Linked DNA regions of Homo sapiens: region 2 is linked to region 1. Evidence: promoter capture Hi-C in 16 types of primary human blood cells and fetal thymus (Javierre and others, 2016). All regions are on one chromosome and are shown on one strand. The core of a region is centred on a gene start or on the middle of the fragment in contact, and the rest is flanking DNA. Distances in the headings are between cores, read along the strand shown. Region 1 holds the start of PRELID3B (PRELI domain containing 3B). Region 2 overlaps ZBP1 (Z-DNA binding protein 1).

Region 1 (4,000 bases), core at 328-2,827:
ATCCTCGGAGCTGAAATGGACTAGTGATGAATGCGACCAGGTTAATGAACATCTAAATGACCACAAATTTCGGGTCTTTTTCCTCCCAAAAAGACTAAACAGTAGGGGGAAAAGAAAGCTTCCTTCTGATTCCAGTATTCTATACTTTGCAGGATACAGCAGGCCCTAGGATGTGTCCCACTGAGTACAAATGCGGACAACGTTTTAAAAGTTGCCTTCAGAGGCCGGGCACAGTGGCCCACACCTGTAATCCCGGCACTTTGGGAGGCCAAGGCGGGCGAATCACCTGAGGTCAGGTGCGACCTGACCAGGGCGAATCACTTTGAGACCAACCTGACCAACATGGTGAAACTCCGTCTCTACTAAAAATACAAAAATTAGCCGGGCGCGGTGGTGGGCGCCTGTAATCCCAGCTACTTGGGAGGCCAAGGCAGGAGAATCGTTTGAACACGGGAGACGGAGGTTGCAGTGAGCCAAGAACACGCCACTACTCTCCAGCCTGGGCAACAGAGCGAGACTCTGCCTCAAAAAAGAAATTTAAAAAAAATTTGCCTTCAGAGACAGTTTTAAAAACATAAATGGCTTTGTAGCATATTTATTTACAAGGCTATACTAATTAAAACAGTGTGGCAACGACATTAAGATCAGCGGAACAGAGCAGGTAACTCGGGAAAAAAAAGGATTTCGCTGCTTAAATTTGTGGCTCTTTTGTAAATGGAATCAGGGACCTAGAAGAGAATATAATTCTCCACATCCAACTGGTTCAAGGCTTAGTTTCGTTAGTAAACAGTTCACATTATCCAAAAAGATGTTCCTGAACGTGGCCTCAAAGAGCTAACACGGGTAGGCCCTGACGATCGTCCTTTTCCATCTCTCAGATGAAAATGGGTAACCCAGGGTCACACGCTTGTTACAGCCAGAGCTAGACCTTGAATTCCAAATCCAAGGCTCTGCTGCGTAGATGAACGAGTTGTGAAAAGGCTTCACATCCTGGTGGTCAGAGTTCACCCGAAATTCACATTCGAAGGTAGAAACTCCACCCAAACGGCGGCCAGGGAAAGTACACTCTGGAGAAAACCAACACCTCCCTCTTGGGATCCTCGGGTCCACGTCCCAAAGTGGTTTCACAGGGCGGGATGGGGCAACCCTGAGTGCTGTCAAGGGCTTCGTGCTCCGCGACGCCCCCAGGACCTCAGGAGGCCGCCGGCCCGAGGCTACCTCATGGTGGGGGACAGCCCGGAAGTGACCCCGTAGCCCTGCCGGTCGCAAGGCCGCCTGGGTCTGGAGGTCGGAGCCGTCCCCTCGGCTAGGGCGCCTCGGGGTCGTGACCTTGGTCTGCCCTCCGTGTCGCCGGGGCCCGCAGGCTTCAGAGTTCGCTCCCCTCGCTAGGCCCGACGCCTAGAAGCCTCCTGCGGGCCGCCTCTGCCTCGCCTCTACTCCAGGGCCGGCGTGCCTGCCCTCCACGGAGCCGACCCGCGCCCCAAACTTACTCAAAGACGTGCTCCGAAGTCCAGATCTTCATGGTGCCGGCACCCTGAGAGATGTCCGGGTAGCGCCAGGGGACAACGAGGCACAGAGGCTACACCTGCCCCTGCCCCGCCCCCAGCACCCCAGCCGGCGGCGCAGTGCGCAGGCGCTGTCGGGCCCGACGCGAGGGACGTCCAGACGCGCGGCCCCACGCCCTATCCCGGCCCGGGTTTTGCCCCAGCCTTGCGCGCGGCGCAAGGAAACCCCGCCTCTTAGCGCCGGGCGCATCGCGCCGGCGCAGTGCCGCCGACGGCAGCTGGAGGGGCCGGCGCGGGCGCTGTGCTGCGCAGGCGCGGCGGGCTTGTAGCGAGCCTTGACCTCTGGGCAGAGTTGGGTCAGGTCCAGGAGGTGCCTGCGCGCCCGCTTGGCCCTCCTTGTCCTTCTGGCCCAGCACATCCTCGCCTGGCATTTCGAGGCGTGTGGACGCATGCGGTCAGCCTGCTGACATAGATGTTCGTTGTGGTGGTCACTTGTGCAAAATTTCCTGGTGCCCTATAGAGAGTTCCAGCCACCTCCTGGGTCAGCCCGGGCTGTTTTCCCAAATCCACCAGCCACCCAGCCGATCAGCTGGGCCAGTCCCACCTGCCCGCCAGGAGCTTGCAGCCCTCGGAGGGGATAAATAAGGCGTGACGCGGAGAAGCTAACATCAGACCTGCCCATGAATAATACCCCTACGAGGGATGCGGTCCGGAAGCACGGTGCCAGGGGTCGGGTAGAAAAGCTTCCTGGCCGGGCACACCTTGCCCTAGGTGCATAGGATGGATCTGAGCTGAGATGTCTCTCCCAGAGAGACTTCCCTCGTCACCGTTTCTCACCTTGTTGCTCTGCTCCGTCACAATATCCTGTTGCATTTTTTATAGCACTTACCCCTCTGACATCATCTTGTTAATTTATTTGTGAAAATTCACAATCGAACTGAGTTCTTGAAGGCAAGAATCTTGCCGGTCTTGCTCAAAAATCATCCTCAGTGTCTCCCATATAGTCAAGGCTCAATGACTACTTATTGAAAAATGAAAAAAATCAATAGCTATTTGTGGGATGAATGAATTAATGGAGTCATCTAGTTTATTTGTTGTAACTTCCGCTAGACTGTAAGCCCCTGAGGGCGAGGCTCTTGCCAGACTTGTTCAGTGATTTCCCCCTTCCTAAATGACAATTATTTGTTGCATCAATGGATGAAAGAATGACTAAGAATTGCTGGGGCAGGAGGAGGTGGCATGTGGTTTCATTCAGAGATGAGCCTTGTCCAGGGAACAGACTGCCTGGCTTAGCTTTCAGAATATGGCTTCCCACCCTGCTCTCCTGCACTCTCCACAGCCGTCTACCTCCTAACAGAACAATTTGCCATTTTCAATGAAGGTTATGGAGGAAAATCTTTACATCTAGTTACTTAGAAGCTTGTTAGAAGGACCACCTCATTCTTGTTCTTAGCTTGTTTGATTGTTAAAGACAAAAAGCCAGGTTAATTTAGGAGGGAGGATAATTTTTCAAAATAACATAAGTCCTTTATACAGGAAAACAAAAATTACATTAGACAGGAAGGAAATAATATGGTTGGGTAGTTGCTAAGTGCAATTTGTGGTACCTGAGATTTTCTTTTTTTAAACCTACAGTACTTAAGAGTGATTTCTTGGGGAGGTAATGCTTTAAGGGCTACTGAGAGTACCTCAGCCTTGACTAAGATGCAGTTAACGTCGCTGGGTGTTAAAAACACTGGTTCAAGAACCATCAGCACAGAACAGCCTGTCCCTGCTATTCCTGGAGTTCCATGAGGCTGTTCACCATTCAGCATTCCTGTTCTGTTTATTTTAGAGAACATTATTCTGCTCTCAAGTTCAAAATTTCTGTGTTTTAGTCATGAAAATTAAATGACACCTATCTCCCGTGCCCCCAACACACATACTATATCAGTCTAATTTTACTTACTAGATCTAGAGTGGTGGGATGGGGCATGGAAAGATGGAGATCCAGGACCCAATTGTCTTCTCTGCGTGTCTCCTCATGGTAGAAATAATACCACCTCTTGCTTGGATTTGGAGGGTAAGACTTACATAATGATTATCTCCTGGAGACTCTGTTAGGAGACACAGAGGAAGCAAATTAATGGTTTTTAGATACCTAAGCACTGCATTACTTGACAGTGCCTCTCACAGAAACAGAGAAGTCATTAACAACAGATCATTACTTTGATTTGAAATTAACTAGGTGACTGGTAGTTATGGCCCTTGCCCCAGGGATGACACACATCTCCACACCCTTCCTGCTGGGATCTCCTGTTGGGATCTTGCCGAGCTCCGTGTCTGGGATGAGAATGCAGACATTAACTCTTACCTACAAGGAACTTTACAACTGGCCAGGAACCAAAACCAAAACACAAGTCAAGAATCAACTAGAGGATATTTATTTATTTTTTAGACAGAGTCCCACTCCGTCACCCAGGCCCAGCCTGGAGTGCAATGGCACGATCTTGGCT
Region 2 (3,915 bases), core at 177-2,676, 1.4 Mb before region 1:
GCCAGGTGGTTAGGGAGTAGTCCTAGGGTTTGCATCTGCCCCACCGCTTCCTAGCTGTGTGGCCCTGGACCCAGCCCCTCAAGGCCTGGTTTCCTCATCTGTAAAATGGGTGTCATGATAACGGGGTCATCATGACGCACCGCAGAGGTGCCCTGAGGGTGGGGGATGTGCACAGAGTGCTCTGCGCTGGGCCTGGCATGTGGCGGGTGCATGGTGAGGGTCAGCTATTGTCTGACTGGAGAAATCACTGCTCAGCCATTCAGATTCTCCCACTGTGAGGGCTGGGTCTTGGCTCTGAACACTGTATGGGAGCTGCCTGGTGGGTGGGACAGGGCCCCTGAACACTGGTGAGATCTTGTACCCTCAAGGAGGGCCTGGGGTTCCTGGGGAGTGGGATCCTGTGTCCCGGGAACTGAAGGGACATGCAAAAACTTACCCCGTTGTTGGCTGAACTGAGGGCCAGGGGTCTCTGGAATTGTAGCTGCATGTTGCTGGGGCCTCTCGGCTGCAGAAAGAAAGATGGGTCAGAGGGGTGGGGGACAGAAGACAGCACCAGGCCTCCACCCCACAAAGGTGGGCAGCTCCCTAGGGGTAAGTGGCAATGCCGGTAGTTGCAAACTCAGACTCCAGAGTTCAACACACTTGACTTCAAATCCTGCCTGCGCCCTGGCAGCTGCGGCTTCCTGCCGATTAACTTCTCCGGGGCTCAGCCTCCTTTGCCTCCTGGGGTTGTGTGAGGGCTGGGTGAACCCCAAAACAGTGCCTGGCTAATCTTAAGTGCATGATAAATGGCAGCTCCTTCTGGCTGTGGGCTGTAAAGCTAGAAAAGGGGGGCTGGTGGGACTGCATATGTTCTGTGATTGGGACCATGGCGTCATTGCTGTCTCCATCATGATGATTTTCTATTATAATTGTTAGTGTTCTGCAGAGTACCTCCTGTGTGCAGGGCTGGGCTGAGCCTGACGCAGGGCCTCCTCTCAGCAACCCCTACCAAGCAGCCCTGCTGTGAGCTCCATCAACCAGAAAAAGAAACCAAGGCACAGAGAGAGGAAACCTGTGAGCTCCCATGTGGCAGAGTTCAGATTCGAACCCAGGCTCAAATCTGTGCTTGTCCATTGCCAGGATGCTCCCTGCAGGGTCAGACCCGCCTCCCCGGGGTGGCAGTTACCAGGGCTGGACAAGGCCAGCTCTGCAGGACCCTCGCCTTCAGGATCAGTCCCGCCCAAGCACCAGGTGGCAGGGGATGTGAGGGAGACTTTCAACTCCTTTTTCATTCGGTAGAGGACTTGGTTGAGCTCCCTCTTGGGTGCTTGGCATTCCTTCACCAGCTGGGCAAGTTTCACCGGGGAGCCAGCCTCTGTCAGCACCTGCAGGATTCTTTGTTCAAGGTGGCCTGGGGGAGCGAGCGGGGGACAGAGAGGGGAACTGAGTCTCCCAGGTCCCCACAGTTGAGCCCAGGCTGGAGGCTCCAGGAGGCACGTAGGCCCCTTTTTGAGAGGGGTCCAGGGCAGAGGAAAGGGCAAGGACCCCAGCAGATGCCCCCTAAGAGCAGTAGGGCAGCTGCATCTGCCCAGAGGGAGGCATGCAGGCTGATCAGAAACGGCCTTGGCTGCGCAGCCTGGTGGCCAGGGGAGGTGCCACCTCGCCTGTGCCCTCCCCGGGTGTGGGTTCCAGAGGGCAGTGGGGTTCCTCAGCTCTCAGGTGTCCTCAGGGCAGAGGGGAGTAGAGGGCAGAAGGACGGAGCCAGAGGGAGGCAGGGGGACCTGGGAGCGCAAAGGCAAGTCCTGCCTGGGACGCCTGCCTGGGTTTACCTGATGCCCATCGCCATCCTCCCCGGGAGTGCCCTCCTCTCAGCTCACCATCCATCCATGGCGCCACTATCCATCCAAGCCAGAGACCGACCAGACATCAGAAACAGACCTTTCCCCCAGTGCCCAGTCGTGGAGCCCTGGAAATGCCATTCCTGGATTCTCTGGAATCCCCCCACTCCTCTCTTTTCTGCCAGCACCACCCCCTTCCTCTTCACCATCTCCTAGGTACAGTGATAGGCTCCCCGTTGGCCCGCCAGCTCCAGTCAGGTACCCTCCAGATCTGGCTCTGCCAACCACCCAGCTTGGCCTGCACCTGCCCCCAACTTCCCTCCAAGTGCTGGCCTGTCTGTGCTCCCTTCAGCCCCACTCTCCCCAGCCCCTTTGTGCACACTGTTCCTGCTGCCAGGAGCACCCTTCCCTCACGCCCCAACCTGTATGATGTCTACTCAACCTCCAGGCCTCCTCAGATGCCACTTCCTAGGGAAAGCCTGTCTCTGTGTCCCAGAGTGGCTGGGACGCTGCTTGTGTGTGGGTCCCCTGCAGAACTTCCCCTAGTGTCCCCTGCTGTGCTTGCATGGCTCACTGTTGTACCTTCAGCATCTAGCACAGTGCTGGGCACACAGTAGGTGCTCAGGAAATGGCAGTTGAATGTATGAGTGACTGAGTGAATGAATGAATGAATGAATGGGGCCAGGAGTGGTGGCTCACACTTGTAATCCTAGCACATCAGAAGGCTGAGATGGGAGGACCCCTAGAGGCCAGGAGTTCTAGACCAGCCTGGGCAACATAGTGAGACCCCCATCTCTACAAAAAAAGAGAAAAATCAGGTAGGTACGATGGCATATGCCTGTAGTCCCAGCTGCTTAAGAGGCTAAAAGTGGGAGGATCGCTTGAATCTAGGAGGTAGCAGTTGCAGTGAGCTATGAATGCACCACTGCACTCCAGCCTGGACAAGACCCCATCTCTGGAAAAAAAAAAAAAAAGGACTGAATGAGTGAGTGTCTGTCTCTAGGGACAGACGTTTACCCAATAGACCCTGGGCAGGGCCCGGGTAGCTTCTCCTTGGCCAGTTGGCAATGTGCTGCTGTTTCCTGGCCTGAGTTTAATGAGGACTAAGCAGGACCCCAAGAGGTTCAAGGAGGAATTCTCCAAATGGCCCCTGCTCCTCCTGAGGCAGCTCTTAAAAATCAAAACCATTAGCTCACACAATGATTAAAAGATCAAAGCCAGCTGCTCTGCCCAGAGATGAGGCTGGGGCAGACGCAGGTTACGGGCAGCACCTGGCAGCCAGCAGCCTGGGAGAGCCACTGTGGGCGGGGGCCCCACCTGTCACCAGGAAGCTTCTGCTTCAAGGAACCTGAGGGCAGTGCATGGGAGAGCCCTTCTTGGAAAGACCTGAGTTCCCCTTCCAGGACAGTGACTCAGTCCTTTGTCATCTGGGCTTTCTTTCCTGTTCAGAGGATTCTCCAGGTTTGCCCAGGGTTCCTTGGTCACAGCACTTGTAGGGGAGGGAAGAATCAGTTTGTGCCTCACCCTGATGGTTACAACGCTGACCGGCTTGCCGTGTGCAGGTGAAGACCAATTAGAAGACCTGGGAATTCCCACTCCTGCGCCCACCAAACTCCCCCACCGGCAGCCAGCAGCACCTCCATGCACCTGACTTCACACCTGGCTTCACCTTGTCTCGCAGAGTTTTTTGTTTTTTGGTTTTGAGATGGAATTTCGTTCTTGTTGCCTGGTCTGCGGCTGCAGTGGTGTGATCTCGGCTCACTGCAACCTCCACCTCCTGGGTTCAAGCAATTCTCTTGCCTCAGTCTCTCAAGTAGCTGAGATTACAGGCACGCACCACTACACCCGGCTGATTTTTGTATTTTTAGTAGAGACAGGGTTTCCCTTTTTGGCCAGGCTGGTGTCAAACTCCTGACCTTGGGTGATCCCCGCAACTCAGCCTCCCAAAGTGCTGGGATTGCAGGCGTGAGCCACTGCGCCTGGCCGCAGTTTTGATTCTGGAAGGCTGACCTTAGGGAGCCACTGCCTCGGCTCCACACACCCCAGAGGAGATGGGGGTCAGAGGTGTGGATGCAGGACAAGCACTGGCCCTGGG

Evidence for each region. Contacts are between HindIII fragments. The CHiCAGO score rates a contact against its expected background, and 5 or more counts as called.
Region 2: a contact is called between a fragment that was not itself captured here and the fragment with the promoter of PRELID3B in region 1, in 1 of 17 cell types (total CD8 T cells). The highest score is 6.4, in total CD8 T cells.

The regions. Positions count from the first base shown.
Region 1 is chr20:59,041,209-59,045,208 of GRCh38, forward strand. PRELID3B (PRELI domain containing 3B) reads right to left here and starts at 1,578. Exons shown (of 6, transcript NM_016045.3): 1 at 1,491-1,578. The coding sequence starts at 1,522. SLMO2-ATP5E (SLMO2-ATP5E readthrough) reads right to left here and starts at 1,638. Exons shown (of 6, transcript NR_037930.1): 1 at 1,491-1,638. RefSeq lists a silencer at 1,496-1,895. The HindIII fragment of the contact is 2,130 bases long and covers 117-2,246 here.
Region 2 is chr20:57,615,076-57,618,990 of GRCh38, forward strand. It overlaps ZBP1 (Z-DNA binding protein 1), which reads right to left. Exons shown (of 8, transcript NM_030776.3): 2 at 1,169-1,393; 3 at 437-505. Among named protein-coding and RNA genes, the nearest start is that of ZBP1, 3.4 kb to the right of the region's middle. RefSeq lists an enhancer at 2,904-3,763. The HindIII fragment of the contact is 3,446 bases long and covers 1-3,149 here.